Regions from separate parts of the Homo sapiens genome. Here regions 2, 3, 4, 5, 6 and 7 are each linked to region 1. The links are contacts of gene promoters, found by promoter capture Hi-C in blood cells and fetal thymus (Javierre and others, 2016). All regions are on one chromosome and are shown on one strand. The core of a region is centred on a gene start or on the middle of the fragment in contact, and the rest is flanking DNA. Distances in the headings are between cores, read along the strand shown. Region 1 holds the start of PCDHB7 (protocadherin beta 7). Region 2 overlaps PCDHA1 (protocadherin alpha 1). Region 3 overlaps PCDHGA1 (protocadherin gamma subfamily A, 1). Region 4 overlaps PCDHA1 (protocadherin alpha 1). Region 5 has its middle 3.3 kb from the start of PCDHGA1. Region 6 has its middle 16 kb from the start of PCDHB1. Region 7 has its middle 3.0 kb from the start of SLC25A2.

Region 1 (4,059 bases), core at 592-3,091:
GGAATGGAAATGACTATGGGGAAAATTGCACTGACAGGCAATTGTATCTGTGGGATGAATAAGTGATAGGGATAAAAAAAATCAAGTAAATGAAAAGGCAAGATAATTATTAAAATCACAAAAAAATTGAAAAAGAAAACATAATTAATACACAATAATGTTCCCAATATATGGTAAGTAAAAGAAAATCTAAAATACCTAAAATGTAATCTAACATAATAAACAGTCAATTGATAATTTCTAAAATTAATTAATCAAAATATATCAGAAAACAGATTAGTGACTGAAGAGATAACTAAAAGAGTTTTAAAATGGCTACCTCTTAGAAGGGGAACTAAGAAAAGTGAGGAGGAAAAGGGCAGAACAAGCCTCTTAGTGCTATTTAATTTTGGACCAAGGTCATATATTATTTTGAAAAAAATGCATTTCAAAATATCAGTAAAGTAGAGCTCTTGCAAGTCTCACCAAGAATAAAAAGGAGTTAAAATGCTAAACATCACTAATAAAAATAGGGATACAATTAAAGGTAAATAACGCAATGAAAACAATTCCAAGAAATTTGCAAACTAGATAAAATGATTTTCAAAATAAAATGCAAGTTACTTAAAAATACAAAACCTGAACAGATTAATAACCAAAGGTAAAATGTAAATGGTAGTCACTGATCTACTGCAAGTGAAGTCACCAAACCCAACCAGTTTAAAAGACAAGCTGGAATTAAGCATGTAGAAACATATAATAATATAATTATTAAAACTATTGTATAAAATAGATAAAAAGCTCCCTAACACATTCTATGATGCCAGTATAATAGTTTAATACCAAGGCCATAAAAGGCAAACACGCACTAGGTAAACAACATTAACTAGAAAAATCCTAAAACCATGTTGACACATCATATCTATCTGTGCACTAAAACAATAATACATTATGGTTAAATGTCATTTATATCAATAACTCAGTAATTTAGAAACTAAAGAATAAATGTATTATTTCAACAGCTATCAAAAATCACTTCAAAATATGAAAGAATAAAAAGAAAACTTTATTGATTCAAAAAAGGAATATTTACCCCAAATTGAGATCAACCATCATAGTTGAAGATGAAATGCTAGAAGCACTTCCACAAATGCAAGATTGACCAACTTGCTACTACTAATTTTAAGAGTATTCATTGGACATTGGAGATTCTAGTCACTGAAATTATAGAGGAACAATAATTTCTTATGTAATACTTAAATCAGGTGAAGGATGAAGGTTGGGTTTGGGGGAGGCATAAAGTGTTCCAAGAAATATCACAGGTAAAGAGTTAAGACCTGGAAAGTGGAATAATTGTTTAATTCACAAGAAATTGGGAAAAGGGTCAATTATTCTGCCATATTCACATTATTATTGTTAAATACTTTACAAATAAATAAAATGTCCCCAACCAATATTTGTTGACTTCAAGGAGGAGGTTTCATTTTCTCATATATATTTTTACTATCCATTTTTAAAATAGGAGATTTTCTTAGGATTTCGGTGGGGAGTCAGAGTTTAGTTTCATGCTCCTAGATTTAAGAAGACTATAAATTAATTCTTCTACGAATCCAGATTATCACAGGGGAAAACGACATCAGCTATTACTTACTAGCATTACTGTGACCATTTGAGGATAAAGATGGAATGAAACAGCAAAGATACCGGGGACAAATCATTCTTGTTGCAGAATTCCTTCAATCCGCCATCTTTTTGTTCTAGTCTTGATAACGGGAATAACATCCACAAAACGCAAGGTGGCGCTGCTGGCTAAAAAGAGAGAGAGAAAAATAATTTCACAAAGAAAGGATGTTACAGATTCCAGAGCAAAGAGGCAATCTGAAGAGAAAAGCATAGGAAAGGAAACAGTGGTAATAGGAATTGGGGTAAAATGAGGATCCTTCCCCACAAACATTGCTATTATTCAGCTCATTTCAAAGGATTCCGCTGCTGCCATTTGTGAGAGCCGCTGGAGGCTGAGTGAAAGTCATTTTGAAAGACTGATCCAAAGAAGAATGGAGGCCAGAGTGGAGCGTGCTGTGCAGAAAAGGCAAGTCTTATTTCTTTGTGTATTTCTGGGAATGTCTTGGGCTGGCGCCGAACCGCTTCGGTATTTTGTGGCGGAGGAAACCGAGAGAGGCACCTTTCTTACCAACTTGGCAAAAGACCTAGGGTTAGGGGTAGGGGAACTGAGAGCCCGGGGAACTAGAATTGTTTCAGACCAGAACATGCAAATTTTACTGCTCAGTTCGCTTACTGGTGATCTACTTCTAAATGAGAAATTGGACCGAGAGGAACTGTGTGGCCCCAGAGAGCCCTGTGTGCTGCCTTTCCAGTTGTTATTGGAAAAACCTTTTCAGATTTTCCGTGCTGAACTATGGGTCAGAGACATCAATGATCACGCTCCAGTATTTCTAGACAGAGAGATTTCCTTGAAAATATTAGAAAGTACCACTCCAGGGGCGGCATTTCTCCTAGAGAGTGCACAGGATTCAGATGTTGGAACCAACAGCCTGAGTAACTACACCATCAGCCCCAATGCCTATTTCCATATTAATGTCCATGATAGCGGGGAGGGGAATATCTATCCCGAATTGGTGCTGAATCAAGTGCTGGATCGGGAAGAGATACCAGAGTTCAGTTTAACCCTCACCGCTTTAGACGGCGGCTCTCCTCCAAGATCAGGGACCGCCCTCGTGCGCATTCTGGTTCTAGACGTAAATGACAACGCCCCTGATTTTGTGCGGTCGCTCTACAAGGTGCAGGTGCCCGAAAATAGCCCCGTTGGTTCCATGGTTGTCTCCGTGTCAGCCAGAGATTTAGATACCGGAAGTAATGGGGAAATAGCCTATGCATTTTCTTACGCCACTGAAAGAATTCTCAAAACGTTTCAAATCAATCCAACATCTGGCAGTCTTCATCTTAAAGCGCAATTGGACTATGAGGCAATTCAAACTTACACATTAACTATTCAGGCCAAAGACGGCGGCGGGCTTTCTGGAAAATGCACTGTAGTGGTTGATGTAACAGATATAAACGATAATCGACCCGAGCTGCTCCTGTCTTCACTTACTAGCCCAATTGCAGAAAACTCACCCGAGACAGTCGTGGCTGTTTTTAGGATTAGAGACAGAGATTCCGGGAACAATGGAAAGACAGTGTGCTCCATCCAGGACGATGTCCCCTTCATCCTGAAGCCATCTGTCGAAAACTTCTATACTCTGGTAACAGAGAAACCTTTGGATCGAGAGAGGAACACTGAGTACAACATCACCATCACCGTCACCGACTTGGGGACACCCAGGCTGAAAACCGAGCACAACATAACCGTGCTGGTCTCCGACGTCAATGACAACGCTCCCGCCTTCACCCAAACCTCCTACACCCTGTTTGTCCGTGAGAACAACAGCCCCGCCCTGCCCATCGGCAGTGTCAGCGCCACAGACAGAGACTCGGGCACCAACGCCCAGGTCATCTACTCCCTGCTGCCGTCCCAGGACCCGCACCTGCCCCTCGCCTCCCTGGTCTCCATCAACGCGGACAACGGCCACCTGTTTGCCCTCAGGTCCCTGGACTACGAGGCCCTGCAGGCGTTCGAGTTCCGCGTGGGCGCCACAGACCGCGGCTCCCCCGCGCTGAGCAGCGAGGCGCTGGTGCGCGTGCTGGTGCTGGACGCCAACGACAACTCGCCCTTCGTGCTGTACCCGCTGCAGAACAGCTCCGCGCCCTGCACCGAGCCGTTGCCCCGGGCGGCCGAGCCGGGCTACCTGGTGACCAAGGTGGTGGCGGTGGACGGCGACTCGGGCCAGAACGCCTGGCTGTCGTACCAGCTGCTCAAGGCCACGGAGCCCGGGCTATTCGGCGTGTGGGCGCACAATGGCGAGGTGCGTACCGCCAGGCTGCTGAGCGAGCGCGACGCAGCCAAGCAGAGGCTGGTGGTGCTGGTCAAGGACAATGGCGAGCCTCCGCGCTCGGCCACCGCCACGCTGCACGTGCTCCTGGTGGACGGCTTCTCCCAGCCCTACCTGCGGCTCCCGGAGG
Region 2 (4,059 bases), core at 1,089-3,588, 240 kb before region 1:
GGCCAGCTTTACCCACCAATGCTTTTGCATTATCAATGCAAGTGTAAATATAGTGAAAAATGCAAATAATGTTTTAACATTATTTTGAAAATTATATTCACCTCATAAACACCCAAAGGGTCCATAGACCACACTTCGAGAGCTACCGTTCTAATTCTATCATTTCTTCTTTTTTTTAATTAATTGTAACATTTCTGTAATGGGTCTTCAACTATTTGATTAGCCTGAGGTACAGTTCACACAGGAAAGGCAGGATAAATGTTTGATTCTTCCCCTTTGTTTAGCAGTATTCAAAACAATGAATTGATTCCTGGCCATCTTACAAAAAGGACCAAGGCCTTTTTTAGGTGTCATTATGAACTCATTGACTTAAACATATTTGATATGGCCCAATCCATGTCAATTATCTTTTTAATGATCAAATTATGCTAACTTTGGCAAGTTGGGAACTGTTCAGCTTTGCTCCTGAGTCTTTGTGAGTGTGTTTGTGTATCTTGTTTTAAACCTTTTATTTTGGAATAATTATGGATTCACATAAAGTTACAAAACTAGTATAGAGAGATCCCATGTGCTTGTCACCCACTTTTCCCCAGTGATAACACCCTGAATCCTTTTCATGTGAGTCTTAATAGTCTTTTGAATGCTTCCTTGATTTCTGGTATTACAAGATGTTCAGATTATCTTGTACATTTCCTTTCCCAGAATCAGCCATTTTTCAAAGAGCTTTCACTTATTTTTAGTGAAAGATGATACTTAGAGATATAATCTCAACAACAGGTGTGCTTATTGCTGCTGGGTCAGTTGCTGTTTCTAGGTATCTTCAGCTACTGAGCTAAGGGATGTCTATTTTTTAAAAGATAAAATACATCACATGTTTATACTAATCTAATAAAGTTCAGCACTCCGAGGTTTTTACTTAACTTCATCAATCTTACATTCCTATTTCTCCCATACGTCAAATCCCAGTTTTCATTAACGTCAACAGAATTACTCATTTGTTATCCCACGGGACTCAAACAATGGACTTAGAAAACAATTTCAGCACTACAGAAATAATATGATACTGTAGCAGTTTAAGTTTTTGTCATTCTTTTCATTTATAAGGCACATCCTTACAAATGCCCAGTAGGCATGTACAGTCAAATTATTGTGTTTTAAAGTATCTTGGAAAAGTTCCTCTCTGTGTAGTTAAGCCACCAGCTAGATACAGAGCTAGGCTTTTTTCAAGTCGCTTTCAAATTTAGGGCTTGCTTTTTAAATTTTAATTTTCTTTTATAATTATGTGAAATATTTACATGGCTCCAAAATAAACTTATAAAACAAAATATATTTAGAGAAGTCTAGTATCTATTATTCCATACAATACACATTCTTCCCCACTTTGAGTTTTTTCACTTAAAAATATAAACGAGATTATTTCATAGTAGTATAGTATTTACACATATTCCATACTGCTTAATGGTGTCTTTTGATTAGCAATTAATGAGCTCCAATTTATCAATATTATCTTTTTTTTTTTTTTTTGAGACAGATTCTCATTCTGTTGCCCAGGCTGGAGTAAAGTGGTACAATCTTGGCTCACTGCAATCTCTGCCTCCCGGGTTCAAGCGATTCTCCCACCTCAGCCTCCCGAGTAGCGGGGATTACAGGCACCCACCACCACACCCGGCTAATTTTTATACTTTTAGTAGAGACAGGGTTTCACCATGTTGGCCAGGCTGGTCTCGAACTCCTGACCTTAAGTGATCTGCCCGCCTTGGCCTCCTAAAGTGCTGGGATTAGAGGCCTAAACCACCACGCCCAGCCAAAGTTGTCTTTTTTATTTAGTATTCTTTCTATCCTTTTAAAGAAAACATATCCTGCTTCAAGTCATGAAGATATATTCCTGTGTTTTCTTCTATAACATTGCTATCCAATAGAACTTTCTGACATGCTATAAATTTTCTCTATCTGCATATATGGAATGTGTAGCTACTGAGCACTTGAAATGTGGCTAGTGAAACTGGGCTACTCAATTTTTAATGTTACTAATTTTAATTAATTTAAGCTTAAATAACCACATCTGTTTAGTGGTTGCTGTAGTTCTGGAAGCTTTCTTGTTTTAACTTGCACATTTAGATCTTAAATTACCTGAAATTGCTTTTGAATATAGTGCAATGTAGAAGTCAAGATTTATATTTTCCACTTGTAAATCCAGTTAGATTGCCTACTTTCCTCGCTGCTACTGTGCAGTGCTACCTTTGTCATAAGCAACGTGACTTTATATATTCTGTTTCTGGACTGTCTATTCTGTTTCATTGGTCAACTTGTCTATTCTTGTGCCAATACATTCTGTGTTAAATATAGTAACTTTTCATTTGTATTGATATCTAATTGTGTAAGTTCTCTCACTTTGTTATTCTGCTTCAAGATTAACTTAGCTATTTTTGGCCCTTTGCATTTCTATATAAATTGTAGATTCAGCTTCTCAGTTTCTATTTTAAAAAACCCTGCTTTGATTTTAATTGGCACTATATTGAATCTGTAGAAAATATGGGGTATATTGAAAATATCTTATTTTGATCTTTATTGAATCTATAAAAATATGAAGCTTGTTAACATTGACAATATTGAGACAGACAACCGATTAACAAGGTATATTCTTCCATTTATCTTTTTTTTTTTTTTTTGAGACGGAGTCTCGCTCTGTCGCCCAGGCTGGAGTGCAGTGGCGCAGTCTCGGCTCACTGCAAGCTCCGCCTCCCGGGTTCATGCCATTCTCCTGCCTCAGCCTCCCGAGTAGCTGGGACTACAGGCGCCCGCCACCATGCCCGGCTAATTTTTTGTATTTTTTGTAGAGACGGGGTTTCACCGTGTTAGCCAGGATGGTCTCGATCTCCTGACCTCGTGATTCACCCGCTTCGGCCTCCCAAAGTGCTGGGATTACAGGCGTGAGCCACCGCGCCCGGCTTCTTCCATTTATTTTATTATTTTATCTTAATGTTTATGTGTGTGTATGTGTATATAGGGGTATTGCACAACTTTTATTAGATAGCTGATATTTTAATGCTATTTTAAAAGTTTAATTTTATAATACAAAAATTAGCTGGACATGTTGGCACATACCCGTAATCCCAGCTACTCAGGAGGCTGAGGCAGGAGAATTGCTTGAACCTGCGAGGCAGAGGTTGCAGTGAGCTGGGATCGCGTCACTGCACTCTAGCCTGGGCAACAGAGTGATACTCCATCTAAAAAGAAAAAGAAAGGCAGGGCATGGTGGCTCACGCCTGTAATCCCAGCACTTTGGGAGGCTGAGGCAGGCGGATCACGAGGTCAGGAGATCAAGACCATCCTGGCTAACACGGTGAAACCCCGTCTCTACTAAAAATACAAAAAATTAGTCGGGCGTGGTGGCGGGCGTATGTAGTCCCAGCTACTCGGGAAGCTGAGGCAGGAGAATGGCATGAACCTGGAAGGCGGAACTTGGAGTGAGCCGAGATCGCGCCACTGCACTCCAGCCTGGGCGACAGAGTGAGACTCCGTCTCAAAAAAAAAAAAAAAAGTTTAATTTGATAATTGGCTTTTGTTGAAAGTATATAGAAATAATACTGATTTTATGTTAACTTTGTATCCAATGTTCTTGCTAAATAGTAAAATCTCATATTTTTATATTTTGGGTTTTCTACATATACTGTCATGCTATTCCCAAATAATGTTAGTTTTATTATTGTATTTTTTACTTTCTCTCTTTTTTTAAAAAAATAGAGATAGAGTCTCACTACATTGCCCAGGCTAGTCTGGAGCTCCTGGGCTCAAGCAATCCTCCCACGCCAGCCTCCCAAAGTGCTGGGATTACAGGCATAGGCCACCATGCCTGGTCTTTTAAAAACTTTCTAATCACATAGTTTTCTTGCTTTCTGTCATTGCCTATGAAATTCAGTATAAAATTGAATAGAAGTAATGTTAATGGATAATCTTGTCTTATTCCTGGTCTCAGAGAGGAAGTTTTTAAATATTTAATATGAAATACATTGTTTGATTGGGTTTATTTGCAAAAATCCTTTATCAGATTTATTAAGT
Region 3 (4,059 bases), core at 1,105-3,604, 230 kb after region 1:
GTGACTGCAACAGACAGAGGAACTCCGCCCCTGTCCACAGAAATTCACATCACCCTGCAAGTGACTGACATCAATGATAATCCACCTGCTTTCTCTCAAGCCTCCTACTCAGTCTACCTCCCGGAAAACAACGCCAGAGGTACTTCCATCTTCTCCGTGATTGCCTATGACCCTGATAGCAATGAGAATTCTAGAGTTATTTACTCCTTGGCAGAGGATACCATCCAAGGGTCTCCTCTCTCCACCTATGTCTCTATTAACTCAGACACTGGTGTGCTGTATGCTCTGTGCTCCTTTGACTATGAGCAGTTTAGAGATTTGCAAATGCAGGTGACGGCAAGTGACAGTGGAAGCCCACCACTTAGCAGCAATGTGTCATTGAGACTGTTTGTTTTGGACCAGAATGACAATGCCCCAGAAATCCTGTACCCTGCCCTCCCCACTGATGGTTCTACTGGTGTGGAGCTGGCACCCCGCTCTGCAGAGCCTGGCTACCTGGTGACCAAGGTGGTGGCAGTGGACAGAGACTCAGGCCAGAATGCTTGGCTCTCCTACCGCCTATTCAAGGCCAGTGAGCCAGGGCTCTTCTCGGTGGGGCTGCACACAGGTGAAGTGCGCACAGCTCGGGCCCTGCTAGATAGAGATGCGCTCAAACAGAGCCTTGTGGTGGCTGTACAGGACCATGGCCAGCCCCCTCTCTCGGCCACTGTCACGCTCACAGTAGCCATAGCTGACAGCATCCCAGACATCCTGGCTGACCTGGGCAGTCTTCAGATCCCTGCAGACCTGGAGGCCTCAGACCTTACCCTCTACCTCGTTGTGGCTGTGGCAGTCGTCTCCTGTGTCTTCCTCACCTTCGTTATCACGCTGCTGGCCCTCAGGCTGAGGCACTGGCACTCCTCGCATCTGCTGCGGGCTACCAGTGATGGGTTGGCTGGTGTGCCCACCTCACACTTTGTGGGTGTAGATGGGGTTCGAGCTTTCCTACAGACCTATTCTCAGGAGTTCTCCCTCACCGCTGACTCAAGGAAGAGTCACCTGATCTTCCCCCAGCCCAACTATGCAGACACACTCATCAGCCAGCAGAGCTGTGAGAAAAATGAGCCTTTGTGCGTCTCTGTTGATTCCAAGTTTCCTATAGAAGACACCCCTTTGGTTCCGGTGAGTTCATTTTTTTTCTTTCTTTCTTTTCTTTTTTTGTTTTTTGTTTTGTTTTGTTTTTGAGACAGAGTCTTACTCTGTTACCCAGGCTGGAATGCAGTGGTGTGATCTCGGCTCATTGCAACCTCCGCCTCCCAAATTCAAGCGATTCTCCTGCCTCAGCCTCCCAAGTAGAGTAGCTGGGACTAGAGTAGAGTAGCTGGGACTACAGGCCTCCCAAGTAGAATAACTGGGACTACAGGCACGTGCCACCACGCCCGGCTAATTTTTTGTGTGTTTTTAGTAGAGACGGGGTGTCACCATGTTGGCCAGGCTGGTCTTGAATTCCTAACCTCAAGTGATCCACCCACCTCAGCCTCCCAAAGCACTGGGATTACAGGCGTGAGCCACTGCGCCTGGCCCTTAACTTTCTATTATAGTTAGCTTTCTCTTTAACTGTCTGTACTTAAGGTAGTATAAGTTGATATCAGTGTGTTTCTCATCACTTTTCACTGGGCCTAATTGTTGCTCCAACACTGAAAGGAGGCATTTATTAGTTATATTTGCTGATATAACTTTCATGTTCTCATAATAATTAACCTGCTGTCAACGTAAACCATACTTCATGGGGTAGCTCTCAGCCTGCATTGATGTGGGCTTTTTGGGTAGGGTTGCTTCATTGGTTGCAGTGGACTCATATCATAAAATTCTTACTCCTTTTTTTTTTTTTTTAAGAGATGGGGGTGTCATTCTGTTGTCCAGGGTGGAATGCAGTGGTGTGGGTAAAGCTTACTGCAGTCTCAATCTCCTGGGCTTATGCAATCCTCCCACCTCAGCCTTCACAGTAGCTAGGACTGAGGTGGGAGGGCTAGCAAGCTATGTTGCCCAGACTGGTCTCAAACGATCTTCCTGCTTCAGTTTCCCAAAGCACTGGGTGAGGTGTGAACCACCTCACCCAGCAAATTCTTACTCCTACGATCATTTATTCAGGTCATACTATGTTTGTAAGGGTAAACTGATAAAAAGGTAAATGTATTCTTCTTAGAGAAACAGCTGAAAGCCCAGATTTATTGCTTCTATTCTTCCATTTCTATGACAGGAAAACACCTCTTTGAGGTTATATTTTTCAGATCACAAGTGTGTAAAGTCTGTTTGTGTTTACAGATATTTTCTGACGAAGATTCAAACTTCAGTTATCCACTTCCAAACCCTAGTAAACCAATTTTTTCCCTTTAATGGTGAAAGTTGTCACATCTTTTATTCTCATATCTTCAAAGGTCTTAATTTCCTAATGCTTTAATGTTAAATTATGGAGAATAGTAGGACATTCTTCTTTTCTATAGTATATGCTTGCTCAAGAGAAGTTTCTAAGACTGGACACTGTGAAATGACAAAACAAGGAATTAAAAATATTTCTCTCACTTATATATTATTTCTGGCTCAATTCTCCAACTTTTGAGTCTAGAAATGAACTTGCATATCAGATATAATTTAAGAAAATATTCTCAGGAACTGCTGGGAAGATTCTAAAACTATTTTACTGTTTTTAGCTATAAGGAAGAGAATAATGTATTATTTAATGTTATTTTAAACATAGTGTTGTTTCAAATAGTAAATAACATTTCACAAGACATTTGAAAATAAGCTTTGAAGTTGACTCAAAATTCTATGCTAAACATGTGATCCATAGATACACTGATGACTGCTGGCATTTCTGTGGAAATGAAGAATTGTTTTATTTGTTTGTAATTATTTGGGTTTCAGTTGCTTTATTTTTAAGAAAAAAAAGCTGAAGTGTCTGGGAATCCTTTATGACATACAGACATTTTAATTATTTCAAACACGTTTTCCCCCTTAAGTGGGTAGCAAAAAAAATAAAGCATACTTCAGGCTCATATTTTTAACCATGCAACAAGAAAATTGTTACAATTTCTGTTCTGAGGAGTAGCCTTCATACTTAGTATTTATAAATATTGAAATGTATGTTAATTTGGGGAAAACATAACAGATATCCATGAAGGCTTGTATGTCATGGTAGGTAGTTACTATTCGATACCACAAAAATGTCTCTTGCCCTTAAAACCAGAACACGAGGCTCACCAGACAGATGACTGAATGGAGTATGGAAAATCTTTATTTCTGTTTTTCTTAGGCTATGTAGGACTTAACTTATTGTGCATTGGTAACAGATTGTAGAACATAAGCTGAAAGATAAAATTCTTGACCTTAATGTCTCATCTTAAAAAGAAGCATTGGTTGACATTCTATATCTCGTATTACTTAAAAATAATGGGGGAGCGCAGTATATATTAAACAAAGATTGGCTTTGTGGTGATCATTGTTGAAGGTGGGGTGATGGCTATGTGAAGGTTCACTATATATACTCCCTACTGTTGTATAAGTTTGAAATTGTGCATAATAGATTTATTTAAAACACAAAGCATAGAAATATCTACTATAATATTATGGTGAGAGCAAAATTTGAGGGGGATGTACACCTGCATTTTCGAAGAATATATACATTTCGGAGACCGAATTCAAAATGAAAAACCGGGCTGCTGTCCCGCACGGAGCCTCTGGGCGCCGCTGTCGGCCAGTGCAGAGCAAGCGCTGACGCCGGGGATCCGTCAGCCTCTGGCCTGGGATTCCCTGCGCAGCCAACAACAGAAAGAAGAAAACCAGCTCCCACACAGAGCCTCCCGGCTGCGCAGACCTTTCCCAGCACAGCGGATTGCCAGCTCCGAGACCCGGGACTCCTCCTGTCCTGGGCCGAATGCTCTTTTAGCGCGGTAGAGTGCACTTTCTCCAACTGGAAAAGCGGGGACCCAGCGAGAACCCGAGCGAACGATGGGAGGGAGCTGCGCGCAGAGGCGCCGGGCCGGCCCGCGGCAGGTGCTATTTCCTTTGCTGCTGCCTTTG
Region 4 (4,059 bases), core at 699-3,198, 210 kb before region 1:
CTAGACAATGAACATTATGTAGTTTTTATTAAGAAAGAAGCAGAATTATATATACTGACATGAAAGGATGTTCATTATATATGTTAAGTAAAAACTAAGTTCATCATATATGTTAAGTAAAAAAAAGTCACAAATTAAGAGAAAGTGTTAATTGATTTGAGAGTTTGTGTATTTTTTTTCCTATTTTGTGCTGAAAAGCTGAAGTTGGCATCAACCAAGGCATATTGTTATCTATGTATCAAGCTAAATAATTTAAAGATCTTTAAGACTATTAATTCAGAGATGCTGTATAAATAGAATCAGTGCCAGATTTTTTGTTTCAATTCTATCAGCCAAGTATACTATGCTTTCTTTGCTTGTGATAGAAAAAAGAGAGAAAAAACACAGAAGCAAAAAGTAAAGTTGTACAATAGTGTGTAGAGTGTGGTTCCATTTTGTAAAATGTATCAGTGTGTATATTTATATAGCATAGTCAAAAGCCTGGAGTGATATAAATTTTCTGTTACTGGTCTAGTATACAAGGGAATTAGATTTTAAAGGACTTTCATTGTTTTTAACAATTCTGAACAAATTTAATTTGGTACAAGAAGTATATATTTTAAATATTATTGAACTTAATTAAAATAAATTAGAGCTCAAAAAATAAATAAATCACAGGAAGTTCACAGTCTGACTTTATCAGGAATGTTGCTATTTTCTTAACAGGTCATCAAACATTATCACTGATGCTTGGAAAGAAGCACTTTTTATAATTTAAAAATACCTTTTATTCTTCAACTTCTGCTGGCTTAAAGAGCACTAAGTCCACATATCCTAGGAGGCATGGCTGTCCAATATATACTATGTGTACATTGATTTATGAACCAATAAATGTTTCATACACAGTTGAGATTTTAAATGAGCTTATGATAATTGGATCAAAGGAATACTAGTCCAGCTTGAGAGTACTGCAGAAAACCAATCACAGAAAGCTATGATGAAATTTTAATTATAAAGGATATTGAATATCCTAGAGTGACAACTCTGTTATAATAAATGTAACACTGAATGGGAAAGAGAGAAAGGAGATTTTTACCCATTTCTGTTTGAAATCAACTTTCTATTTCTAGTAAATTATCACACCATTCTGTTTTAATTTTTATATCTTAAAGTTATCATTCCAGTGTCTTTGGTTTACTGGGTTTATAAAAGAATTGACCAGTAGCTATATAATAGATACAGAAAAGTCTGCCTGGGTGTGGTGGCTCATACTTGTAATAATATTATATTATTATAATTGTTCTATTTTATTATTAGTTATTGTTGCTAATCTTTTACTGTACCTAATTTATACATTAAGCTTTATCATGGGTATGTATGTATAGGAAAAAATGCAGTATATATAGAATTCAGTATTATCCTTGGTTTCGGACATTCAGCAGGGGTCCGAAGGTGGGCGAGGTGAGCCCACTTTGGGAGGCCAAAGTGGGCAGATTGCTTGACCCCAGGAGTTCAGGACCAGTCTGGGCAACATGGTGAAATGCTGTCCTTACAAAAAATACAAAAATTATCTGGGCATGATAGTGCATGACTGTAGTCCCAGCTACCCAGGAGCCTGAGGTGGGAGCATCACTGAGCCCGGTGGTTGAAGCTGCAATAAGTTTTGATTATGCTACTGCACTCCAGCGGGACAACTGAGTGAGACCCTGTCTCAAAAAAAAAAGTCACAAATTAAGATAAAGTGTTGATTGATCTGAGAATTTGTGTATTTTTTTCTATTTTGTGCTGAAAAGCTGAAGTTGGCATCAATCAAGGCATATTGTTATATATGGATCAAACTAAAAAATTTTAAGATCTTTAAGACCATTAATTCAGAGATGCTGTATAAATAGAATCAGTACTAGATTTTTTGTTTCAATTCTATCAGCCAAGTATAACATGCTTTTCTTGCTTGTGATAGAAAAAAAGAGAGAAAAAACACAGAAGCAAAATTGAAGAATTTGTAAATCATTTCTAAATAATTTCAATAAAATGAGCTTTGAAAGGGAAAATTTTTAGATAACATTATCTCATCAAAATGCCTTAAAGTATATTTTAATATTCAGTAAGAACAGTGTATATTAACATGGCTAATTTAGAGGATTTATATTTTACCCACATGATAATGTATTATGCCTGTAACTGCTAAAGGAATTATGTAGCAAAATCTGTCAAGGAATACACGAGTGGGATTTATATCAGAAAAATCAAAGCCATTTGTAAAGCCCCATTACTTAGGCAGAATATCATAGGTAGGAGGTAGATGTTACTGAAAGAAGAAGTTGGGATATGAAATACAAATCTATTTTGCATCATGATTTTGTTAAGTCCGGCTGTTTATTATTAAAAACATGTACAGAAGATTCAATTGAAGTTTCTAAAAGAGAAAGAAACTTGTAGTTGTGGGAACAATAGTATTCCTTATGAAATACTTAGATATTAATAGCTTGAGACTGATAATACAATTCTTAAGTTAGGGGTTGCATGTGTAGTGGTCAGATGTTATTTCAGGATCTCAAGAAACAGAGCCATGGTAAAAAGAAGCTTCCTGGAGCTTCTGATAAATTCCGTCACCTTTTTGGGACCCAGTTTCTTCATCAATACCAACCTCATTAGGGTCCTGTGAGAAGTACATGAGGTGAGATATGTACTGAAATAATATGCCAACTCTTAAGTGCCAAGACATTAGGATGCAAGGGGGGGTGCCCAAAAAGTCAACAATTACTTGATACTCTAGATATATGTATGGATAATTTTGAGAAGTAATCCTTCTTACACAGAGGTGTAGGTTTGTTTGTTCCAAGCAGCAAACATAATGGGTATAGGAAAGAGAAACTGTGGCCTTCATATAGACTGAGCTTAGGAAAACAGTTGGAAAACAGTTCAAATTCAAGGTACTTCAACAATATCTAGTGTGTTTTTGAAATATATTTTTAAAACCCCTATCCAAATCAATGAATGCTTTGGCTAAAACCTACTTGGGAATGAGGGTGTTCTTTAGTGCCAAATACTCATCTTATTTTAGTCCATGATTTTAGTCCATGGCTAAAATCCCAAGAGTTACAGAGGAGAAATAGGGCCAAACAAGGTTTCTATTAAAATAAGAGGTCCCAAGTGATGAATGGAAACTTGGAACAGGTTTAATGGCAACTATAAGCCAGAAATTAGCTGAAATACACACTAATGAATTTGGGGCATATCTTGAGTTTCAGATAGAAAATTGGTACTAAGTTTAGTGAATTAGAAACATAGCTTAACCTAGGCAGTTGCAATTCTTGTTCCAAAAATGCTCAATTTGCTGCTGGACTGCATGGACACTTGCTACCTCCTTGTTTTGAGTCATTAACAAAATGTTGAATGGGATATCTGGAGTATCAAGTAATTGTTGACTTTTTGGTCACCCAACCCCCTTGCATCTTAATGTCTTGGCACTTAAGAGTTGGCATATTATTTCAGTACATATCTAACCTTATGTACTCCTCACAGGACCCTAGTGAGGTTGGTATTGATGAAGAAACTGGGTCCCAAAAAGGTGATGGAATTTATCCGAAGCTCCAGGAAGCTTCTTTTTACCATGGCTCTGTTTCTTGAGGTTAAAGAACATGATTTACCAGGCTCTGTTTCTTGAGAGACCAAGAGTGGATCCCTGTAGTCCCCATTAGAATTCTCCTTCTAGTTTGAACTATTCCATTAGTAAACACTTTTTGGCATGTTATTTAAACAATTACAAAATCACCTAACTACACTGTCTTGCAGCTGCCTTTCTTTTTTTGTCTTGTCCACGTGAGTATATTGGGAGACTTTGTTTAATGTCTCCACAAATTCTAGATAGACTGTTCCTGCAGCATTTCTTTTTTTAAATTTTGTTTTGATAAGCATTTATTTTGGCAATGATTCTAGTAAATGAAACTAAAGTGCCCATATGAAAAACAATCTTAAGTCTATGTGGTTAGTTTGAAGTTACCAGTTTTTAATTAAGCCGGAGTAGTCCTTAGTATGAATGCCTTCATTTCTAAGTGCTCATAAACAATCACTTTAGTA
Region 5 (4,059 bases), core at 597-3,096, 150 kb after region 1:
TTAAGCTTATTATTTTAAGTCTATATTCCTAACTAAGCACTGTCAAGAGGATGAGATTATCATTATTAGATTAAATTTATCAGAACCTACTACAGCTCTGAATAGGTTCTGCTTCCCTAGGTACATTAAGGGCGAACACCTAAACTAAAAGGAAGTGTTACAAGAGGAAAAAGGGGCATGAGCAACCAATAGTATCCATAAAAGAGCTGCTTATTTTTGTAATTGTGAAAGTATATATCTATTTTTAAAGTATGGATAAGCATCGAATGTAAATTCTTTATATCAGTAGTTACATAATGCAATTATTCATAATTTTACATTTTTATCAGTATTTTCTACCTTTTATAGTGAAATTTTCTCCTTTAATATATTGAATTTACAGTGAGAATTTTTTATAATTTTTTTACAGTGGATAATTTCTTGAGTAGCCATTTTTACAGAAAATAAGTTTCAATAGTGTGTCATCTTGAAAAGGAAATGTCAAGAGGGAAAAATTTGTAAGAATTCTTAGTCGAATTTTAATGTATTTTAGGCTGGGTGCGGTGGTTCACACCTGTAATCCCAGCACTTTGGGAGGCCAAGGCGGACGGATTACCTGAGATCAGGAGTTCGAGACCATCCTGGCCAGCATGGCGAAACCCCATCTCTATTAAAAGTACAAAAATTAGTTGAGCATCGTGGTGTGTACATGTAATCCTAACTACTAGGGAGCCTAAGGCAGGAGAATTGTTTGAACCCTTGAGACGGAGGTTGCAGTGAGCCATGATCGTGCCACTGCACTCCAGCCTGGGTGACAAAGCAAGACTCTGTCTCAAAAAAAAAAAAAAAAAAAATTAAGAATTTTAATAAAACGTTAGAACTAAATTTTGTGAAATGATCATTTTGCTAATATTTTATCAAAAACAATGATTTGTACCCTTCTTAGTAAAGCAGCTGGTATTTTAAAATATGTCTCGAGAAAAAAGCCAATACAGTCTCTTTTGAGGACCTTGAAAACTAACCTGCTAGGGATATCATACTAGGCCTCTGGGTGCCGCTGTCCGCCAATCCGTGGCTGGAGGGAAACAAAGCAATCCACTGACGCAGCAGTCCCCGCAGGCTTTTGAGACACACATTAGGAGAGGACTCTGCCCGCTGTCTGTCTCACAATCTGCTCGAAATATCTTGGTCAGGAATCTCAGGATGTCTAGTGACCCCGAGTGAGGTGCTGCCTTTTATTCCTGAGCATCTTTGGAAGCAGGAAGCAGGGAGCAACGGTAGCGAGAGGTATTCGGATCTGAGTATCAGCAGGAAGAAGAAACAGAGGAAGAAGTCCCCCATAAGGAAGGCGTGAGGAGCGCAGGAAGCGCTGTTTCCCTGCCTGAGATCTTTATTCTACTAGGTCTTTATTCTACGTAGCCGATACGCTGTAAAATTCTGGAAGAGAAGGCTAGGGGTTTAAGGTTGGTAATCTCTCAGAAGATCTGCGTCTCGGTGACGGAAAGAACTAAGGGTAAGTGCTGAGAAGCCTCTCTTTACAGCCAGAGAACGAGCCAGAGCCGAGCTTGAGAATGACGGGATAGATCTAGCAGTTATGCCCAAGGAAGACCCTCGGCCCTTTGAATTTGAAGGCACTGAAAATCGTATAAATGTTTTCATATAAACGTATGCATCTTTGATATAAATAACAAAATGGCTTTTAGCACAAATTTTGTTTTGGAAATTTTGAAAAACGTCTTAATAAGAGGAATGTTTACTCTTAAGTCTGCAGTAGATTTTGAACACCGGCAGTAACTGTACAAATATATCAGATTAGTTTTAATAGCCATCTCCCCTTCCCCTACAAGTAAAGGAGAGTACTACAGCAGTATGTACTCTGAATTGCTGCTATTGAAGAACCCCTGAGCCTGTGCAGCGTGGCACTCCTGTGGTCCCCATTACTCAGGAGGCTGAGGCAGGAGGATTGCTTGATGCCAGCTAGAGGCTGCAGTGCACTATGAGAACACCTGTGAATAGCCACTGCATTCCAGCCTGAGTAACATGGCCAGACCCCATCTCTTAAGAAAAGAAAAGAAACCCTGAACCAGAGGAGCAGAGCTGCCACCACTTAGTGGTGGGGATGGGGCAGAACAGCTCAGGGCAAGACACAGGCCTTGGATGCCAATGCCAGCCGTCAGATATTGAGCAATGTGTAAGTGGGGTTAGCCTGCAGGAGAACCTGCTCGCCACCTCCTCCTCTTCATTCTTTAGGTGATCCCCATTGACCTAGACAATATCTTTAATATAGAGTTCTCCTGATTTTTCTACACAATTTTACAGGGCATACAGAATATATTTCCTGTCCAATAATGACAGAAATACTTGATTTTGAAGAGTAACAGTTATAGCTTGGAATAGAAGACTGGAGGCAGTTTGAGGGCCGACTTCAGAGTCCTGGTTGAAATGAAGGTTGAGAAGTATAATGCAGTCAGTGCAGGTGACTTTCAGCTGGGTATCTAGTCCTATCAGAGGTAAAAACTGTGGTTGCCCTAACCAAAACAATAGGACTAAGAGACCTTAAATGAAAGATGAAAGTTATTATAGAGAGAAATGATCATACTGGCAAACAATTCACCTCCAAGAATTATGATGTGACTCTTTGTCAGATACTCACAGATGGAATTCTAAACTGGTAGCAGACCCTGAAGGACAATGTCACCATCAGAACCACCAACAAGGACAAACTGTCCCTCTCCTGCATCACCCTGCATACCATCTGCATCCACAAAAATGCTCATTCTTCAACAAGCCTCCTATTTCTTTTGGGTGACTGGGAACACTGCCCAGCACCTCCATCACATGCTTTAGCGCTTCCCACCCTAACTTAGGGTCCCATATGCCTCCTGTTTCTTCTTGACCAGTGACCTGCCACTGTGGGCACTGTCATTCTACATGTCAGTGAGTGCAGAGTGCTATGGTTACCATGCAGACTATCTTTGAGCTGACTCTGCAGGCCAGTGACCAGGGTTCAACTTGCTCAGTGTCATCCTGAACCTGCATGTGATGGTGGATGACCATTGCAAAAATGCAAGGACACTATGCCAGGAGTTGCAGCCAAGTGGGGCCCTCTTTGATGCTGCACCACTCACAATGCAACCCAGCTATCCCATCACCAAAGTGGACACCAGCTGGGGCATAAAGGCTGACTGTCCTATCATGTGCTTCAGGCCAGCTAATGTGGCTCTTCAAACTAGGGATGTGCACGAGCTAGATGCGTGCCGTGTCACTGTGGGTAACAGAGATGCAACCTGCCAAGGTTTGTTGGTCACCGTGGTCAATGGTGAATCATCACGCTGAAACATCACCTGGTTGCTGCTCATAGTTTGCAGGAGTTGCTACCAGACCTCAGCAATCGCCCAGCACCCAACAGCAGGCAGCAGACAGCACCCAACAGCTGGCGATGGCCGTTGCCTTGATCTCCATGCTGTTTCTCCTCAGTGTGACTCTGGCCATCTCTCTGAACCTGCAATGCCCCCTATAGCTCCATTGCCTGGGGCTGTTTTCAGCTGGATCTCTGGTCCAAGCCCGGATATGGAGTTGTCTCCAACTTAAAGAAAGGAAATTTGCCCTGTTCCTACAACGTATGTGTGGTTTTAGATATTTTTAAAATCTTAATTTCTTTAACTCAAGAAACAGCTTTGAACCAGGTATTCTCTGCAGTGCCAGCAATGAAGCTTTGTTTTATTTTTGTTTTTGTAGAAACGGGGTTCACTATATTGACCAAGCTGGTCTCAAACTCCTGGCCTCAAGTAATCTGCCCACCTTGGCCTCCCAAAGTGCTGGGATTGCAGGCGTGAGCCACTGTGTGTGGGCAGCAATGAAGCTTTAAATGTTGCATTTGATTCAAATGTATTTGTGTGATATTTTAACATTTTTATTTTATACTTACCATCCTTTTATAAATCACTCCTGCGTGTTTTTGGTTGCTGAAAGTAGGGAGCTCTACAGGTTTACTTACTAGTTCTTATGTATATTTTAATTTACCTCATTAGCTCACAATTTCTTTGGGGAAAAGTTTATGCCTATTAATGTGTATTCTGA
Region 6 (4,059 bases), core at 662-3,161, 140 kb before region 1:
CACACACATGTACATGTGCACATACCAGAAATTCAAATGTATCCAGTCCTATAAATATCCCAGCTGGTATCAGTGATCTGATGATCTCTCCAGTTCCCAGAAAGCAGAAATTTTTGTCAATCATTCACTGCTGTATCCCCAATACCTAGAACAATCCTAAAATGTCATAGGTCCTTTATAAATATTTATTGACTAAACAAATGGATTTCTAAGCAGTGGCCCTCAAACTTTTAAAGATCAAAAGCACTTTGAGGCCAGGTGTGGTAGTTCATACCTATAATCCCAACACTTTGGGAGGCCAAGACAGGAGGATCACTTGAGGCCAGAAGTTCAAGACCAGCCTGGGCAACACAGTGAGACCCTGTCTCTACCAAAAACAAACAAACAAACAAAAAATTAGCCAGGTCTGATGGCAGGCACTTGTAGTCATAGCTACTTTGGAGGCTGAGGCAGGAGGTTCGCTTGAGCCCAGGAGTTCTAGGCTGCTGAGCCATGATCATGCCATTGCACTTCAACCTGGGCAACAGAGTGAGACCCTGTCTCAAAAAAAAAAAAAAAAAAGAAAAGAAAAGAAAAAGAAAAAATGAGGAACAAAGATATTATCATAATGAGAAAAGCACTAGACTTGAGTCAGAATCTGATTTCCAGGACTTTTTTTTTTTTTGCTAACTTGAGGTGTAATATTGGACATTCTACTTTTCTGGCCTTCAGTTTCCTTATATGTAAAATTAAAACTATACCGGGTCTCTCTTTTGCACAGAAAAAAAATTATAATTTAAACTCTGCATAACACCTAATTATGTGTTTTCATTTACCTCTTCCACACCCAGATTTCCAGGAATAATAAGAGAATGAATCATCAGTTAGGTGTTATCTTGAGTTTATTAAATCTTAGAAAAATTGAATTTCTTTCAGTTATACTCAGAGCATATTAGAAATAAAGCATCACTTATTAAATATTTCTTGATAAATTATTATATTCATCATGATTCATATTATGGAATTGGAATAAGAGGAAATGCTTAATCTGTACAGAAACCCCTTAGAGCCTCATGAGAGTGAATTAATGAAAAATTGGAGTGGTTAGGCAATCTTGGAAGAGTTAGAGAATAATACTTTTAAAATGTTCGAAAATTATCTGAAAAGAATTTCAAAAATATTACTAAAATTGATTATCACCTTATGATAGTGCTTATCTGTATTAGCTAATATTTCTCTAATTATTATATATTATATAATATTTTTGTAATTTATATATTGTATATTTTTATAATTTATATATTAGGTAATATATTTTTATAATTTATATATTATATATTTTTATAGTTTATATATTATATAATAGAGAAATATTAGCTAATACAGATAAGCACTATCATAATATTTATTAGCTAATGAATACTGATTACTACACAAAAATAAATAGCCTTTACAAGCAAAAAATAAAATCTGACAATGAATAATCAATTTTTAAGGTGGTTTGAAGGTCACTAAGAAGTATTAAAGCAAGTCACCCTAAAGGAGAGAAAAATAATGATAAATTTTATTCCCTTTTCCACAGTGTTCTTCAAATGCACTATCCTTTCATTGCTTCTAAATCTTTGTACAAGCTTTTTGCAATTGTTTTCCTTCCTCTTTGCTTAGATAACTCTTCATCTTTCAGAGCCCAGCCTTTCCCAGCCTCCCATTTCCCATCTGTAGTTTTGAGTTCTTCTATTACCCTGTATTCTTATGCTGGCGGTCTGTAACATATTTGCTGTAACAATTTTTTTGTCTGTCTTACCCATTAGGATCTAAGTTTTGTGAGGCTAGGATGGGATCCATCTCATTCGACATTACATTTTCTGACTCCAGGAGAGGCCAAACATAGGAGATGCCTAATAATATTTAGTAACTGAATGACTAGAGTGGTGATTGAGTGTTAGGTAAAAAACAATCTTTAGAAGAGAAGTCCCTTGATTGAACAATGCTGTGGAAAAGAGCTGGCTCAGGTGACAGCATTCTAAAGCTCCTTTACTGGGCCCATCAGATGGAACTGAGCTTTGTAGAGTGGACAATTTGCAAGATTAGGAGACCTAGTAATTACAACAATTATTGGAAACAGCCTCATCATGGTACAAACACAAGTAATAAAAGAACTCTTTTGCAAACATCAGTGCATCATATGGAGTCCTCAGTAAAATAGGAAGTTTAACAAAGAGCTCTTCACAAAGGAAGCTTATTTTTCTATTTTGAGGCCCAGAGTAGGTATTTGTAATATCTCAGAAGAAGGGAAGAATTTAAAACTATTATTTTCATTGTTACAAATCATAGAATTAAATAGTATCTTCAGAGCTATGAAGAAATTATGACTCAATATTCCCTTTAGGCAGCCATCATTACAGTAAAACAATCTATATACTTTGATCTACTAATACTAAGAAATAGTGAATTTAGAAGTTAATTAATTATATGCATATAGACCATCAATCTTAGCAATTCATATGACCTCTACTTCAAGTAGCATTATTTACAATGAACTCAAGCTCTGTAATATTTTCATAATGGATTATCATATTAGATCAGGTTTTTATTTTACTACTTCATTGAATCTGCTCTGCCAAGGTCACAAGAGGTTTCCATCTTTCTATCTCAAGCCTCATTTTACTAAACTAAAGCAGTATTTCCTTTCTCCTTCAAACAGTTTCTCCACATGGTTCTCAGGGGACATTCTTTCCTGGATTTCCTCCTACCACACTGGTCATTCCCTCCTTCAGTCTCCTTTGCTGGCTTCTTTCCATTTTCTAGACCTCTAAAGCTGATGTGTGCTAGGATTCACCATCTTCTCTATCTACGTGAATTTTCCAGGTGACCTCATTTCATTGCTTTATAGTTTTCCTAATCTTTACTTTAAAATTCATATTTGTAGATATAGTATCTCCTCTAAGTCCCCAGATCCAAATATTCATTTGCCCACTTGATATGACTTAGATGTTTAACAAGCATTTTAAATTTAGCATGTCCAAAATAAAATTGTTGATTTTTCCATTCCAAAACTAACCCTAACTTTCCTCATGTTAGTAATGACACCACCAATCACTAAGATATTCAAAACAGAGAGCATTCTTTTTTTATTATTTCATTTTCCATTAAATCCATCATGAAATCATGCCAATTAAAAAAAAAAGTTCCAGACCCAACCAATTTTTTAAACTTCTTCAGCACCCCTACCCTTGTACAAACTACCATTATCTTTGGCCTGCATTATTGCCATGAGCTTCTAATGAATTTCCCTTCTTCTACCCATACAACAGCCAGACTTATCTTTTTATAATGTAAATCAAATCTCCATTAAAAACCCTTAATTGGTTTCTCATCATCCCCCTTCTCCTTTATAACATTTGCCACTATTTCATATAATATTGTGTATCTATTTTTGGGCTCCCTAAAGGCAGGGGTTCCCTAATAATGCATACCATATATTATTGATGCTATATGCCCAGAGTCTAGTGTCTGGCACTTCATAGGTGCTCAATAAATATCTGCTGAATAAATGAATAAATTAACAAGTATTTTAAATTTTCTGGTATCTGGTATTACAACCCGGCAAAAGAGAAATAAGCAATGATTATTTGATGACAGATAACTGTTTTTCTAGCTACATCATAGGATCAGACTTACAGCCCCATGTACCATATTTTTTCTCATGTGACTGTAACAAATTCTAACTCTTTATTCTAGAGTATTTTTGCTTCAGCTTCATGAGTCCTATGATGTGCTATTTTCCATGAAGTGGCAATTTATGAACTATCCTTTTAACGCCAATAAAACATAAAGTTATATTATGAAGATATATGTATATACATATATGAAGCTATATAGGGTAGAGTGTAAATTTTTACAATCAATTTACAGATATGGGCCTATATGACATATATGGGCCCATATCTGTAGGCATGATTTTTTATAGTGAGTTAGTATGATGGAGAAGTTGAAAAAAATCTATGCTAATATCTCTTCAGAAATTTCTCTACTGCCGAGACATAATATATATTTTTATATGAGCAAGAACGATAAAAA
Region 7 (4,059 bases), core at 967-3,466, 130 kb after region 1:
CAAAAACAAACAACCCGAAAAGAAGATGCCCTCACTTGAATAGACCCTGAATTCAGAGGGTCAATCTACAAGAAAACTGCTTTAAAGTAGATAAGACAGGCCAGGTGTGGTGGCTCATGCCTGTAATCCCAACACTTGGAGAGGCTGCGGAGGGAGGCTCATTTGAGCCTAGGAGTTCAAGGCTAGCTTGGGCAGCAAAATGAGACACCCCTTACCCCCTACAAAAAATAAAGTAGAGAAGACAAACTGTCAGAGGCGCTGGAACCACAGCAACTCCATCTTGACTAGGGACTGAGTAAAATAAGGCCGAGACCTACTGGACTGCATTCCCAGGAAGACAGGCATTCTAAGTCACAGGATGAGATAGGAGGCCGGCACAAGATACGGGTCACAAAGACCTTGCTGATAAAACAGGTTTCAGTAAAGAAGCCAGCCAAATCCCACCAGAATCAAGATGGCATAATAAGTGACCTCTGGTCGTCCTTACTGCTCATTATACGCCAATTATAATGCATTAGCATGCTAAAAGACACGCCCACCAGCGCCGTGTCCACTTACAGATGCCATGGCAACAATAAGAAGTGACCCTATGTGGTCTAAAAAGGGGGAGGAATCCTCAGTTCCGGTAACTTTGGACCCCTTTCCCAGAAACCTCATGAATAATCCACCCCTTGTTTAGCTTACATTCAATAAAAAACTGTAAGTATCCTTAGTCAAGCCGCCCAGGCCACTGCTGTGCCTATGGAGTAGCCATTCTTTTGCTTCTTTACTTCTCTAATAAACTTGCTTTCACTTGACTCTATGAACTTGCCCCAAATTATTTCTTGCATGAGATCCAAGAACAATCTCTTGGGTCTGGATCGGGACCCCTGTCCGGTAACGAAACGATCTGAGGGTTGCTACATGAGAGACAGTGACTGCTTTTGATCAGAAAACCCTCAGCGATCTGCCCACGCTCCTCACTTTCCTGGGGGGCAAGGAGGGGAGTAGGGCACTGTGGGAATCCTTAGCCCTGGAGATGTGCTACTGCTTTCCTGCAGAGCTGGAGAAATGCTATCACATGGCAACATCCCCAAGGATCTGGGGTTGCAGCCCTGGGAACTGGTGGAACGTGGAGTCCTTATCATTTCTGAAGATAGAACACGGCACTATAAAATCAACTTGGAAAATGGATAGTATTTATATACTGCATTGCTAAGAAACTTGATAGAAAAGAGCTGGGTGGCTCAGCACTATGCTTTCTAAGTTTTGAGATTCTCTTTGAGGACCCACACAGCCTCATGCAGAAGTAGAAATTTGTCGTTTGTACACTGTTGGTGGGAATGTAAAATAGTTCAACCCCTATGGAAAGCAGTATGGAGATTTCTCAAAGAACTAAAAATAGAACACCCATTCAACCCAGCAATCCCACTATTAGGTATCTACCCAAAGGAAAAGAAATCATTTTATCAAAAAGACACCTGTGCTGGGGACAGTGACTTACACCTGTAATCCCAGAATTTTGGGAGCCCAAGCCAGGTAGATCGCTTGAGCCCAGGAGCTCCAGACCAGCCTGGACAACATGGCAAAATGCCATCTCTACAAAAAAATACAAAAAGTAGCCATGCATGATGGCATGCCCCTGTAGTGGCAGCTACACAGGAGGCGGAGATGGGAGGATTGACTGAGCTGAGTTGGAGGCTGCAGTGAGTTATGATCCAGCCTGGGTGGCAAAACAAGACCCTGTCTCCAAAAAAAAAACCAGAAAACATCTACACTCATATGTTTATGGAAGCACTATTCACAACAGGAAAGTCACAGAATCAATGTAAGTGTTCATCAATAGTTGATTGGATAAAGAAAATGTGGTATATGTATACCACGGAATACTATGCAGCCATAAAAAAGAATGAAATTATGTCCCTCACAACATGGATGGAGCTGGGGGCTGTTATTCTAGGTGAAATATCTTAGAACCAGAAAATCAAATACTGCATGTTCTCACTTATATAAGTGGGAGCTAAACAATGGGTACACAAAGACATAAAGATGGGAATAACAGACACTGGGGAATCCAAAAGTGGGGAGGGTGGGAGGGATTGAGGGTTGAAAACCTACCTGTTGGGTACTACATTCACTATGTGGGTGACGGGTTCACTAGAAGCCCAAACCTCAGCGTTACACAACATACCCATGTAACACACCTGCACATGTACTCCTTGAATCTAAAATGAAATTCAATTTAAAAAGAAGTAGAAGTTCGGGATACAAATGACATGTCTAGCTTTCAAAGCAAGATGTTTTTTGGACATTAGTGAGGATACCACTGTCAGGACACACTTCTTCCTCCCAGATATTTATAATCCCAGCATTGGAATGAATTCTCTCCAGGCTTACATTCCAAGCCGTCGTCGGCCATGGGTAGTAAAAACAAAATCTGGGGGGAAGAAAGTATGCTGAAAGCATTCTCTTTCATTTAGAAAACTTTCCTTGTCTAATTATCCTTGGCTGTCAATTAAAAGTGAGGTACTTCAGAACAAAGGTCTCTGAGAAAATTTAAAAAAAAATTTTTTAATGAGGTACTAAAAAGCAAATTGTGCATGGATAATTTGTCACCAGGTAGTCTTCACTGTAGTAAATAGTAATCTGGGCTTTTCTTTGGGAAATGCCCAAATGTCAGCAGTTGCAGTTCTTTTCTCTGGTACCACATAGTTTCCTCAGAGAATGCTCTATGAGCTTTGACTGTGTGTGTGCAGGGTGTGGTGGGGGAGAGGTAGGTTATAAACCTAGATACTGATTTAAAGAGAACAAGAGAGGGGAAGAGGGATGACACACCTGGAGTAAATATACAGACTTTCACATAATTTTTTCCTTATTTGACACTGTGCCTACTTTCTCTGAGTTTGGGCCTTCTTTGGTTCAATTTATCCAGAAAATAAAATTTCCATCTTCTGTGGGATGGAAAGAGTTATCTGGCTTCATAGAGTGGGATAGAGATCCTGGACACCCAACAACTCTGAACACAGACTTTAATGAATCTCACATCTCTAACCCTACACCTTCCCACCTTCCCTGGAATCTTCTGCTTGCAAAAATTTTGCATCTTACAAGGCTCTGTCAAGTGGGTTTGTCTCTCTTTGGTATAACTACTTGCAGACATTTAGCATGTAACTTTTTCTGATCTATGAATTCATTTATCATTTCTCTGTTTTGGCCTTCAGATAATGGGTTGACATCTCTCATCCACTGTTGTCTCATTTCCTATTCTCTTTGTCCTTAGAAGTTAACATCTTTTAAAAATCCTTTCTGTTGTTTTATTTAGCAGCCTCTTAGGTAAAGCAGAAAGGATGAGAACAATCTGCAATTTGAAAATAGAAAACTTCATTAGGATTTTTAAATCCTTCATGTCATATTTGAGGAATTTTTTTCTATGTTTTGATTTCACTTTCAGGAAAGGGAACGGGGGAAAAGGGTTTTGTTTTGGTTTGTCTTGCTCTGCTGCCCAGGCCAGAATGCAGTGGCACAATCATGGCTCACTGTAACCTCAACCTCTCAGGCTGAAGCAATCCTTCCACTTTAGCCTCCCATGTAGCTGGGCCAGAGGTGTGCACCATCACACCCAGCTAATTTTTAAATTTTTTGTAGAGACAGAATCTCACTATGTTGCCCAGGCTGGTCTCAAATTCCTGGGCTTAAGTGATCCTCCCATCTCAGCCTCCCAAAGTGCTGGGATTACAGGAATAAGGCACTGTGCTCAGCCCAGAAATTATTTAAATAATAACATATTATGTAGATTTTGCAAGGTCACCTAATATAAATTAGAAATTTGCCTTCGAAGCATCCTGTAGTCTAAAAATAAACACTGAATGGCAAATGAAACAGATATTTGGAAATGGTTTAGCCATTAGATGTAGACCTTAAGACAAAGGGAGCCCATTATATGTGTAATAAATATAAGCAAGTCCAAGGCATTCCAAGTCTAGTGACATGGCATATAGTCTGCATTACTATTTCATTATGGAGAGAGCCTAAAACATATAATTAAGGTTATTTACTGTAAAGGTGTTATCTGAGTGAGAT

Evidence for each region. The method cuts DNA at HindIII sites, captures the fragments that hold promoters and counts their contacts. A CHiCAGO score of 5 or more calls a contact.
Region 2: a contact is called between a fragment that was not itself captured here and the fragment with the promoter of PCDHB7 in region 1, in 5 of 17 cell types (M1 macrophages, M2 macrophages, M0 macrophages and 2 more). The highest score is 10.9, in M1 macrophages.
Region 3: a contact is called between a fragment that was not itself captured here and the fragment with the promoter of PCDHB7 in region 1, in 4 of 17 cell types (M1 macrophages, erythroblasts, fetal thymus and 1 more). The highest score is 6.9, in M1 macrophages.
Region 4: a contact is called between a fragment that was not itself captured here and the fragment with the promoter of PCDHB7 in region 1, in 4 of 17 cell types (M1 macrophages, M0 macrophages, M2 macrophages and 1 more). The highest score is 9.2, in M1 macrophages.
Region 5: a fragment that was not itself captured here is called in contact with the fragment with the promoter of PCDHB7 in region 1 in 2 of 17 cell types (M1 macrophages and endothelial precursors); the score reaches 6.7 in M1 macrophages.
Region 6: a fragment that was not itself captured here is called in contact with the fragment with the promoter of PCDHB7 in region 1 in 4 of 17 cell types (monocytes, M0 macrophages, M1 macrophages and 1 more); the score reaches 6.0 in monocytes.
Region 7: a fragment that was not itself captured here is called in contact with the fragment with the promoter of PCDHB7 in region 1 in 2 of 17 cell types (M2 macrophages and M1 macrophages); the score reaches 5.8 in M2 macrophages.

The regions. Positions count from the first base shown.
Region 1 is chr5:141,170,803-141,174,861 of GRCh38, forward strand. It overlaps PCDHB7 (protocadherin beta 7), which reads left to right and starts at 1,842. Exons shown (of 1, transcript NM_018940.4): 1 at 1,842-4,059. The coding sequence starts at 2,034. It also overlaps PCDHB@. RefSeq lists an enhancer at 3,812-4,059. The HindIII fragment of the contact is 10,030 bases long and covers 1-4,059 here.
Region 2 is chr5:140,934,387-140,938,445 of GRCh38, forward strand. All of the region lies in intron 1 of PCDHA1 (protocadherin alpha 1), which reads left to right. All of the region lies in intron 1 of PCDHA2 (protocadherin alpha 2), which reads left to right. All of the region lies in intron 1 of PCDHA3 (protocadherin alpha 3), which reads left to right. All of the region lies in intron 1 of PCDHA4 (protocadherin alpha 4), which reads left to right. It also overlaps PCDHA5, PCDHA6, PCDHA7, PCDHA8, PCDHA9 and PCDHA10, and 5 more genes. Among named protein-coding and RNA genes, the nearest start is that of PCDHAC1, 10 kb to the left of the region's middle. The HindIII fragment of the contact is 499 bases long and covers 2,090-2,588 here.
Region 3 is chr5:141,404,216-141,408,274 of GRCh38, forward strand. All of the region lies in intron 1 of PCDHGA1 (protocadherin gamma subfamily A, 1), which reads left to right. All of the region lies in intron 1 of PCDHGA2 (protocadherin gamma subfamily A, 2), which reads left to right. All of the region lies in intron 1 of PCDHGA3 (protocadherin gamma subfamily A, 3), which reads left to right. All of the region lies in intron 1 of PCDHGB1 (protocadherin gamma subfamily B, 1), which reads left to right. It also overlaps PCDHGA4, PCDHGB2, PCDHGA5, PCDHGB3, PCDHGA6 and PCDHGA7, and 6 more genes. The HindIII fragment of the contact is 857 bases long and covers 1,927-2,783 here.
Region 4 is chr5:140,957,682-140,961,740 of GRCh38, forward strand. All of the region lies in intron 1 of PCDHA1 (protocadherin alpha 1), which reads left to right. The region is part of intron 1 of PCDHA2 (protocadherin alpha 2); the gene reads left to right. All of the region lies in intron 1 of PCDHA3 (protocadherin alpha 3), which reads left to right. All of the region lies in intron 1 of PCDHA4 (protocadherin alpha 4), which reads left to right. It also overlaps PCDHA5, PCDHA6, PCDHA7, PCDHA8, PCDHA9 and PCDHA10, and 5 more genes. Among named protein-coding and RNA genes, the nearest start is that of PCDHAC2, 6.8 kb to the right of the region's middle. The HindIII fragment of the contact is 1,223 bases long and covers 1,338-2,560 here.
Region 5 is chr5:141,325,146-141,329,204 of GRCh38, forward strand. No RefSeq gene overlaps it. Among named protein-coding and RNA genes, the nearest start is that of PCDHGA1, 3.3 kb to the right of the region's middle. RefSeq lists an enhancer at 1,183-1,302. The HindIII fragment of the contact is 3,687 bases long and covers 4-3,690 here.
Region 6 is chr5:141,033,417-141,037,475 of GRCh38, forward strand. No RefSeq gene overlaps it. Among named protein-coding and RNA genes, the nearest start is that of PCDHB1, 16 kb to the right of the region's middle. The HindIII fragment of the contact is 607 bases long and covers 1,609-2,215 here.
Region 7 is chr5:141,304,979-141,309,037 of GRCh38, forward strand. No RefSeq gene overlaps it. Among named protein-coding and RNA genes, the nearest start is that of SLC25A2, 3.0 kb to the left of the region's middle. The HindIII fragment of the contact is 5,316 bases long and covers 1-4,059 here.